Linked DNA regions of Homo sapiens: region 1 is linked to region 2. The links are contacts of gene promoters, found by promoter capture Hi-C in blood cells and fetal thymus (Javierre and others, 2016). All regions are on one chromosome and are shown on one strand. Each heading gives the region's core, a stretch centred on a gene start or on the middle of the fragment in contact. The rest is flanking DNA. Distances are from core to core; before and after follow the strand shown. Region 1 has its middle 15 kb from the start of TRIM63. Region 2 holds the start of CRYBG2 (crystallin beta-gamma domain containing 2).

Evidence for each region. The method cuts DNA at HindIII sites, captures the fragments that hold promoters and counts their contacts. A CHiCAGO score of 5 or more calls a contact.
Region 1: a contact is called between a fragment that was not itself captured here and the fragment with the promoter of CRYBG2 in region 2, in 1 of 17 cell types (M0 macrophages). The highest score is 5.2, in M0 macrophages.

The regions. Positions count from the first base shown.
Region 1 is chr1:26,079,659-26,084,713 of GRCh38, reverse strand. No RefSeq gene overlaps it. Among named protein-coding and RNA genes, the nearest start is that of TRIM63, 15 kb to the right of the region's middle. The HindIII fragment of the contact is 7,537 bases long and covers 1-5,055 here.
Region 2 is chr1:26,350,095-26,355,683 of GRCh38, reverse strand. CRYBG2 (crystallin beta-gamma domain containing 2) reads left to right here and starts at 1,554. Exons shown (of 20, transcript NM_001039775.4): 1 at 1,554-1,648. RefSeq lists a silencer at 4,055-4,253 and an enhancer at 5,469-5,589. The HindIII fragment of the contact is 7,544 bases long and covers 1-4,311 here.

The DNA.
Region 1 (5,055 bases), core at 1,438-3,937, 270 kb after region 2:
CGCCATGTTGCCCAGGTTGGTCTCAAACTCCTGAACTCAAATGATCCTCCCGCCTCAGCCTCCCAATGTGCCGAGATTACAGATGCGAGCCACTGCGCCCAGCCTCCAGTCTGATCTTTCTTCTGAGTTCAGCTGTACTTTTCCATCTGCCTGCTGGTTGACCCATAGAACAGTCACCTCAAAGTCATGTGTTCTTCCCAAACAGCTCTCCACCTCCCATCTCCTTCTAAATCTCTACACTCTCCCTTGACTGTTGCTGAGCACCTTGAATCTCCCTTCCTCATTCTCTCACTTCTGTCTCTTCCTTGGCCACCTTCCTAGACCAGGGAGGCAGCCAAGTACCATAGTGTGATAGGATCACACGCAAGCACTTTGAAAGTACTCAGACCTGGGCTCAAATCCCAGCTCTGCCATTCAGTTCATTTCACAGGGTCTGGGTTTATTGGTCTGTGTAGGGAAGTTGTGCCTTGCTGGTGGCTGAAGAGTAAGTGAGATGATGTTGGAGGTGACAACAGCTGGCACACAGTAGGTATTTGATGAGTGACAGTGCCTTGCCCTTTCCCTACCAATCTTGGGGAACTGTCTTGTTTTCCTCATAGCTTGGCTCGTTCTACTTAGGAAGCAGAGAGGTAGTTGAAGTTCTTGGGTAATCATTGACTCTCAAAATATCTCTCTGGGGGAACCAAGATCTCCAATATCCCTTTTCAAAGTATTTTAAACAGTTAGCTTAATTTGCAATCATAATGCTATCATTAACTGAGTGTTTATTACCTGTCAGTTACTTTGCTAAGTGCTTTATGTATTTTGTCTTCTTTCATCCTCATGACAACTCTATGAAAAAAGTTCCATTATCGTCTCCATTTTATAGTTCAGGAAACTGAGGCTCAGAAAAATGAATTGACTGGCTTAAAGTCACATAGCTAGTTAAAGGATGAAACTGGGACTTGAACCTACATTTATCTGGCACCAAAAACCTGAGTGCCTGATCACTAGACCATCCTGCCTCACAGCCTATCTGGCCAAAGTAGGGAGAGTCAACATGTTTCATTTCCTGCATGGCTAGAAGCTCAGAAAAGTGAGAGGTTTGTTCAGAGTCCCATAATGGACTGGACACTAAGCCAGGGTATGGTGGGTCTGGCCCCAGGTCCCAAACCTGCCCCAGCAGAGAAAACTGGGAGGTCTGAGACTTCAGGGCAGCTTGGACCTTCCTCCTAGAGCTGGACTGCCTCCCCAGAGCAACCGAGCCATAAACACAAGCAGCTCTTTCAACACGACACTGAGCCTGAGTCACTGAGTATTTATAGATGGGCCTCTTCTCCTCGCCTCAGCTTTGCCAGGATTTATCAGGTTCACCTGGGGTTTGGAGGGTGACAACCTGTTTATCATCCAAGGTGCCCAAGCAGGATGTTGGGACATTCTCCGAGAACGAGATCTGGAGTCCTGCCTGTGTTTAGACCTGGCCTGACCCCCCACACCCAGACTGAGGCAATTCTCCCTATCCAAGGTGTGCCCTCTTCTACCAAATACTCCCCATGCTTACCCCATCACAACCTTATATACCTAGGGAATTCATGGTCTCAGGTTAAAATGGGACAGAAATGCTGCTTCTTTCAGGAAGACATCCTGGATTGATCTAGGAAGGTTAAAAACTTTCCCTAACCCCACTGCTCTGAGGGAGTAAACTCTCTCATTGGTCAGATAATTAAATTAATCATAATAACATTTGCTAAGACTGGGAGGACAAGGTAGGAGGATTGCTTGAGGGCAAGAGTTCGAGACCAGCCTGGTTACATAGAGAGACCCTGTCTCTACAAAAAAAAATAAAAAGAATTACCCGGGTGTGGTGGCACATGCCTGTAGTCCCAGCTACTCAGAGGCTGAGGCAGGAGGATCACTTGAGCCCGGGAGGTTGAGGCTGCAGTGAGCTGTGACTGCATCACTGCACTTCAGCCTGGACAACAGAGACAGAGAGAGAGAGAGAGAGAGAGAGAGAGAGAGAGAGAGAGAGAGCCTGTCTCAAAAAAAAGTAAAACAAACATTTTCTAAGGACATTCTATGTGCCAGATACTATGCTAAGACTTTTAACATTACCTTTTTGTTTTTTTTTTTAAAGATGGGGTCTTGCTGTGTTGCCCAGGCTGGAGTGCAGTGGTGCAATGACAGCTCACTACAGCCTCAAACTCCTGGGCTCAAGCGATCCTCCCGCTTCAGCCCCCTGAGCAGCTTGAATTACAGGTGTGTGCCACAGCACTCAGATTAACGTTATCTTTTTGAATCCTCACAATTTTATAAGTTAAATATTAATTTAACATCATCTTTATAGATAAGGAAACTGAGGCTCACAGAGGTAAAGTAACTTGCCCAAGCCACACGGCTTTCCTCCTAGTAAGTAGCAGGACTGTGCTCAAAATCTACGTTTTCCTTGGTTCAGTGGTCCAAGCTGTAGGTGACCTTGGACAAGTTACTTCACCTCTGAACTCAGTTTATCTGTAAAACAGAGACATTAATACCGACAGTTGTACAGACTGAATAAACCCAGTACACAGTAGGCTCCCAACTGCTGACTGCTGTCCCACACCTGATAAATTTGTTTGTTCTAAGTTGCTTAGGACAATCAGCCAGGCCACATCTGGCTCAACTCTGGGGACTTGAACCTGGGACCCAGGCTGTTCCAGCCACCCCTGCTCCTCTGCCCCTACTCTTTCCATCTCCTTAATAGCCATCATGTCCTGAGTGACTCAGAACACAGGGGCGGGGTGGGTGAAGGGGGCTGGGGAAAGTAGGGTGGTGAGTGAATAGGGGGATTGGGGGTGGTTGTGTACAGAGGCACAGTAGATAGACCTGGCTCTCGCTCCTGGGATCTATTTTGGATGGGGCCAGCCTCCAGGCTGCTGGAAGCTGGAGGTGGAGGTCAGTGCTGAGTTAACGGAGCGGCTCTTGGAGCCAGATTTAGTGGTTGAGTTCTGACCACAGAGGGTGGCTTAGCTGCGGGCACTGGGCCAAAGCCACTTCTGTGATTCCTGCCGTGGGGTTCTGGGTCTTTGTACAGGGCACCATGCTCCTTTCTACTGTCTTTACCACACCCTCCCCAGCCCAGTACAGAGCCTCTAACTTGAGATTCAAACAGATTTGGGATCAAGGCCTGGCTGTTCCACCTACTAACAGTATGACCTTGGTGTCCTGAGGGTTTTGATGATTAATTGGGGTGTCCAGATAGGGCTGTCTTCCCCCCACTTCCCCCAACACCACTGGGGCCCATGAGGCCAGGGCTAATTCTCCTGTCTTCATCCTACCTCTCAGGGTCCATTCCCCCGGCCTTGACCTGGCTGTTCCAGGGCCCCCAGGGCTCGCCTTGCATGGTGCTTCCAGAAACTCTGATCCTAAGTGGCCCCTGGCCTACCCAGGGCTGTGCCAGGGCCCAGCTCTGACAGAGGTGAGGGCCCAGTTCTGCTCAGCTGTAGCTCAAGTTTCCTGCTGGGCCTCGTTAAATGGGCTTATTAAGGAGCCTTTAGAGGGCCTCATTAAGGAGCCCTGGCTCCTAGTTTTTAACAGTTTGGAGATTTCTTTCCATCCATTTTCTATGCCTGTACCACATATTTGTTACATACGTTTATTTAGATACCCATGTATAATATTTTTTAGAAGAATAGGATCAGATTATATTTAATAGGCGTGTGTTTTTCTGTTTGTGCCTAACAATATATTGCTGACATCTTTTGATATTGGTATTCAATATGGAAAGCTCAATGTCCATTGTTTTAAAATTGGAGGAATATTTATGTATATATATAAGCATTTATTTTTCTGCATGGACATTTGGAATGCTTATTGGGGTATGCTTTTTGTTGTTGTTATTGTTTAGTAAACTTTTTCTTCAAGTATAATATACATTCAGAAAAGTACACATTGCAATCCCAGCACTTTGGGAGGCTGAGGTGGGTGGATCACTTGAGGTCAGGAGTTTGAGACCAGCCTGGCCAACATGGTGAAACCCCATCTCTACCAAGCAATACAAAAATGAGCCTGTAGGTCCAGCTACTCGGGAGGCTGAGGCGGGAGAATTGGTTGAACCTGGGAGGTGGAGGTTGCAGTGAGCCGAGATTGCGTCACTGCATTCCAGCCTGGGTGACAAGAGTGAAACCCTGTCTCAAAAAAACAAAATAAGTACACAATTCCTAAGTGTACAATTCAAGGCATTTTCACAGAGTGAGTATACCTGCATCACCCACACCCAGGTCAAGAAACAGGCCATCACCAGCACTCGCAGGGGCTCCATGCTTCCTTCTGGCCTCCTCAAGGATAACCACCATCCTGAATGCTGACAGCTCAGATTCGTTTTGCCTTTTTCAAAGTTTATATAAACAGAATTATACAGGATGTCCTCTTTTGCTTGACATTCTATTTATGAGCTTCCCTCATGTTGTTACGTGTGGCAAGATTTGTTTATTCTAATTCTGTATAATATTCCACTAGGTGACTATACGGCAATTTATTTATTTGTCCCATTGATGGACATTTGGGCTGTTTCCAAGGTTTTGCTACTGCAAACAAAATTGCAAAAACGTCCTGGTGTGTAAATAGCTCTCTATATCTGCATATCTGTATCTATCTATCTAATTATATCTTTCTGTTATCTTTCTAGTCTTTTGATAAGATAGAGTCCTCAGAATATAATTGCTGAGTCACATGTATGTATTGTTAACATTTTTCTTTGTCAGATTGCACTCTCCTGCTCCCCCAGGGCCAAGAGCAGTGCCAGTGCCCATGTCCCTACCCCTCACCGAGCTTGGATATTATTAATCTTTAATACTTTTGTCTATTGGATCAAAGAAAAATCAGATTTTATTGTGGTTTTAATGTGATATTTTTAAATTAGTGGGGATAAGCACTTTTTTTCGCTTTTGTTTTTGGGGACATTGACATTTATTCTTCTGTGAATTGCCATTTTATATCTTTTGCTTATTCTTAAAATTTTAACGTATTATGGATTTTGACATTTGGTCTTTTCATGTTTCTAGTGTTTTCCCCCCACCAGCTTTGTTTGTGAAGCAACTG
Region 2 (5,589 bases), core at 305-2,804:
CCAGGTTGCCTCGATCCAAGCCTCCAGGTTCATCACTGTACTCTTGTCTCTTGAGGTGGTCAGCCCCTGGGGAATGAGAGGCTGCATCTGTTTCATAGATGAGTAAATTAAGGCATTTGGCAGCAAGGATCCCTGCTAGGCGGAATTTTGACCTCCTCTGTTGCCAAGGAAACAGCCCATCTTTTAAAACGGGTCGTTTTGGGGGCAGTGTCCATCTGGGTCTGGGGTGCTGAGCCCTCTCCTCTTATCCCCACAGCCAGGCTGGACCCCAGGGGAAGACAGCAGAAGAGGTCAGGTGTTGTCCCATTTCAGGGGAACCCTCTTCTCTGGCTCCCTTATATCCCAGGTACATCCTCCCAGGTGTTCTGTCTCAAGCTGGGAGGGTACAAGAGAGGTGGCCGCAGTCTCTCTGTTAGCTTGGAATGGGCAGAGGCCATGGGCACTTGAGGCAGGCCTTCCCACCCAGCCCTCAGCCCCAGGGCGGGGAAGCACCTCAGGACTGCAAGGAAGCTGAGATCTCCAGCCTTTGGGGGGCATGGCCGGCCAGGCCCTGGGTGCCTTGTCACCTGGGAGGGAGTGCGGCACCTGAGCGTTGGGAGCCCTCGCTGGCTTGCTGTGTGATCTCAGTCATGTCGCCGTCTTCTTTGGGCCCCACTTTCCTCTTACGTAGAATGGGAAGGGGTGAGTTAAATGCTGAAGGGCCTTCCCAGAGCTCTGTCCCTTTGTCCAGCTCTGGTGGCCTTAGCAGCCTCTCCCTAGGGCAGCTTACCTTGGTGTCAGAGCCCTGTTCAGCTTCCTTGTGACAGGGAAGATACCAGGTACCAGGGGTGCCTGGAGGGCAGGGGGAGCTGTCACTATGCCCCTGCCTCTCTCAGTGTCTATCTCTGTTTTCACCCAGGCCCAAGGCCAGAGCTGCTCAGAATGGGACATCCATGTAGGGGACCATGATGATTTCTGGATTTGGAAGCAACAAGGAATCTCGGGGGGTCCTGCTCAGTCCCTGGGGCGCCTACAGAGGCCAGCGGTGGGCAGCGCCTTCGACCTGGCCAGCCATGCCTCCCTGGGGCCTGAGAGCCTGGCCCTGGAAGTGGCCTCAGGAGAGTCTGCTCGTACCAGGCTCCCCCAATACCCAGGGCCTGCTCCTGGACATGGGGAGCAGGGATCCTCAGGCTGCACCTGTCAGCAGTCTCCACCCACAGCTTCAGAGGTCCCTCTGAGGCCTGAGCCACCCAGCAACCTGGAAGACGCACCCCTGCTGCTCCACCCTGCATCCTTCCCCAGGGCAGAGGGGACAAAGGGCAAGCCCGCCACCCCAGGGACTGCCTTGCCAGAGCCTGCCCAGACCCTACACACGCGTCCCTCTTCCAGGAGGACCCGCTACTACATCACTGTCACCCTGCTGGGGCACAGGCAAGCACCAGGGGAGGAGGGTGAAGAACCGGCCCAACCAGCTCCACACCTCTGCGGCCCTGAGGAATCTGAGGGCTGGTGGGAGCCTCCCCAGGGGCCACGCCCCATCACAGGGTGCCGGACGGCCCCGCCTCAGGAACCCCAGCTGAGAGCCCAATCGCATCAGGGGAGCACGGCCCAGCAGCAGGAGCTCCAGGCTGGCTGGACACCTGGGTCCCCACGCAGACTGTGAGTAGAGGTCGGTCTGTGTGTGGAGATGGGAGGGGAGACTGGCCTGGCTGCCCTGTCTTGAGACTTTGCCTATTCCCTGGGCCTCTCCAGCTCTAGGCCCATTCATTCAGGACCCTGAGCCGACTCTGCCTTCCCTCCCTGCTCCAACCCTGCCTTCCTCTCCCTCCCTTTGCCCACAGGCTACCTCCTGGAACCCACTGCTTCTCACCCCCACTGTCCATCTGAGAAAGGGGAAAGTCTGTCAGGGAGAGGATGGGCAGGAAGGGGGGTTGCCTTCTTCACAGCATACACCACTCCCCAGTTCTGTTCAGGAGGCCACAGACTCAGCCTGGGAATTGGCACCCAGCCTAGGTGCTGGGTGTCCTGAGGCGAGTTGCTTAACCTCTCTGGGCCTTGAGTTGTTGAGAGGATTTGGTAGCTGAAAATGAGGAAGGAGGAGGTGGCTACAGGAATATACTTTGAACTCCAGAGACTGGGGGTGCCAAAATAGCAGGGATGCTTATTAATTACGTCTCAGTGACAGCAATAATTACCCCACCTGGCTCTGAGCTGGAAGCCAAAGGAGTGGGTGTCGAGTTTCCCAAGCCTAGTTTTATTTGTGTTGAAATGACTCTCCTAAATCTGCCTGGGGGGCGCAGAGGTGGAAGGATATGTCCCCCAAAGCTCATCAAGGAGGGATGAACATGGAACCTCCCAGGGATGACCCTGAAGAGGAAATGAGCCTGGGGTGGGGTTTTGAAGGGTGCTTAAGGATGATGGGGTGGCTGTCATTTGCAATTTGTTTTCTAAGCATAATTTTATTTAATCTTCCCAACCATCCCATGAGTAGGGACTGATCCCAACCCCTGTCACCTAATTCTAGGAGGCTCTGAAAGTCACTTGCTCAAAGTCAACTAGAAAGTGAAGGGGCTAGAATCTGAACTTAGGTTTCTATAACTCCAGTGCCTGTGCTCTAACCACTGCTCCATCCTGCCTGGAAGAAACCTCTTTGGCCCTGTGCAGAGAGTGGAGGGTTGAGTGAGGTTGCTGTGTGGGCTCCAGGGTTTTCTAGGCTCCTATGGCGGTGGATTGGGCAGCATTGTAGTAGCAGAGGCAGAATCAGGAATGCTGGGGTCCTCCAAGCAGGGGTCAATGTGACTGCTTCCGTGCCAAGGAAGAGGGAGATGTAGGACCCAGGCTGGCTCTGAGACCTGCTTGGATGCCCCAGAAGTCAGGGGCTGGGGGACAAGGGCTGCAGAGAGAGGGAAGGGGGGTGGAGGAGGCTACCTTGGAGAGGGGGACGGGAAAGAGAAGTAGGGTTAGCTGGGGGGAGGTGGTTTCTATCTGCCACTACCTGGGTATTTTGGGCCCAGGTGGATAATGACAGACTCAGGTGGGAGGCTAGGGCTCACTTAGAGTGGGGGGCAGGTGACCTCCAGAAACATCATCCTTCTATGTCCCCTTCCTGGGAGAAGGTTCTCTGGGCCAAGATTGGCAAATATGGGAGTCGAGAAGAAGTGAGACATAGCTGGGACTGCCAGTGGGAATGTGTAAGATACGTGTGCATCCAAGCGTGTGTGTCCACGTTCAGGGGTAGGTGAATTTCAAGGGGAAGAGAGCTTGGGGCTGTGAATTGACTGTGTGTGTATTGTGAATGTGTGCACGTGTGTGTCACTGTGCCTGTGTTTCTGTCTGTATGTGATTTGTGTGTCTGTTGTGGCTCTGAGTGCCTGTGCGTGTTTGTATTTCTTGGGTGAGTGTATATTTGTGTGTGTGTCCCTGGTTGTGTATGTTTTTATAGGCTTCTAGGTGTATCTTTGTGCCTGTGTGATTGTGGGTCTGTGTCGGTATCTGTCTGTGTGTCTGTGCCTGCGTCTGTGTGACACAGCATGTGTTTGCCTGCATGTGGGCCTGTGGACTGGTTTGGCCTAGTTTGGGGGTGACTCACAGGTAAGTGGGGAGAATCCAGGACTTGTTGGGTTAGACAAGGCTCTTTCCCACACTCCCCCCGCCCCCTCCTCAGCCTCTCCCTTCCCAGCTCCACACGCCTTGTTTGGAGGTCACAGGTCACGCTGCCAACAAATCCACTTCTGGTCTGGGGCCCTGCAGAAGAAAGGGCTCTGGGAATGGCCCCTTCTGCTGGCCCAGGAGAGGCATCCTGGGTCATTGTATTGGGGTATGTCTTCAGAGCAAGGACAAAAGGGGGCATCTATAGGCAGGCACATTCCAGCAGAGTCTGAAGGACATTCTAGCACTCATGACTGTTCAGGGACGGGGCAGGTGAACTGTCGAGTGGTGACCTCCCTGTCCCTGGAGGTATGCAGGCAGAAGCCAATGACCACATGCTTGTGGAATGACTGGCTATCAGGGGTGTTGTCCAGGGGTTGGGCTGGTTGAGAAAGACGTTAAATTCTGATTGGTAGGAGGTCATCGACAATATCTGATCTCATGATCGGCCGCCTCCTTTAACATTGCTCTCCTGTCGCTTTCCTGATGCCTATGGCGCTTTCCAAATGTCCCTGTTTTTATGTCTAATTCCTTGGCCCCTGGCTTCTTAATATGCCACCTTTCATGAGAAAGTTGGCTCTGGTTCTGGTTGAGTCTAGCCAAGGCCTAGCACATCCCTTGATACAATTAGCACTGAATGAGTGAGTAATTGAATGAATGAATGAATGAGTTAGAGCTCAAGCTTTGCCACTTACTATAAGCACCATCAGAGACAAGGAAGCTCGGAGAGTGGAAGGCAGGTGGACAGGGGCTTAGGAGGTGCTCAGCGAGGGCGTCAAACTTCATTTGGGCAGAGTCCCAGCGAGGAGGGCAGGGGTTGCATGAGGAAAAAGGGAGCTCCCTAATGGGGACAGGGGAGTGGGCTGGGGCCTCAGTGAGAGGCTAAAATCCAGAGCCTTTGGTGTCTGGCTGTGTACTGCTCTCAGGAAGCCCTGGCCTGGGAAAATGACCAGGGCTCTACCTAACCCCTCCACCTTCCAGTCCCCCTTGGACCCTGTCCCTGACACTGTCATAGCCACCAGCAGTCCTGGAGTCAGGTCAGGCTTCCCGGGGCTTCAGTCTCTTTCATCTCTGCCCCTCATAAAGCCTGAGTCACTGCTGTGGCCACAGGGAAGGGTCAAAGTTCTGAATTCCACCAGCTTCTCAGGAAGGAGGACAATGGGAAATGGGGGAGGGGAGTGGGGGCAGTGGGTCCATTTCCTGCCCAGAGTCAGGTCTCTTGGGGAGGGGAGGGTACCTCATGGAGAAGGCCCAAAGACTCGGGCTGAACAGGCTGGCCTCTCTGGGGTTCGTGGGGCCTAAGAATAGGATTGCCCTGGTCAGTGTAGCTTGGAAGTCAGGGAGTGGGGGTGGAGACGCCCTCCAGGACTGACATGGCTCCCTGTAAATGTAAACCCCCAAACCAGAGACTCAGTTATAGGATACATATATTAGGGAGTTTGGTATGGTGAGTGAGCACTTAGGGTTGGGGTTCAAGTCTTGTTTCGGTTACTCTGTGACTTTGGACAAGTTTCTTAACCTCTCTGAGCATTTAAAAAATCTCATCTGCAAAATGGGAAGGTATGATCTAATTTATTAATAATTTATTCTTTATGAGGTCTCAAGCTCCTGGGATTCTTCTGAGGCTTCAATGGGACAATGAATCTAAAGCACTTAGCAAGGTGTTTGGCAGAGTCAGCCCTCCCCAAATGGCTGTTTTTGTTGTTGTTGCAACTAGTAAAACAGAGAAATTCACCTGAGAGTTCCTAGGGAGCTTAGTCTATTTTCTGTTGCTTATAATGGAATACCTGAACCTGGAAGCCCAAGGTCAAGGGGGTGCATCTGGTAAGAACCTTGTTGGTGATTCTCTGCAGAGTCCCGAGGGGGCTCAGAGCATCACATGGCAGTGGGGCTGAGGTGCTAGTTCAGGTGTCCCTTCCTCTTCCTATAAAACCACTGGTCCGGTCAGGCACAATGGCTCAC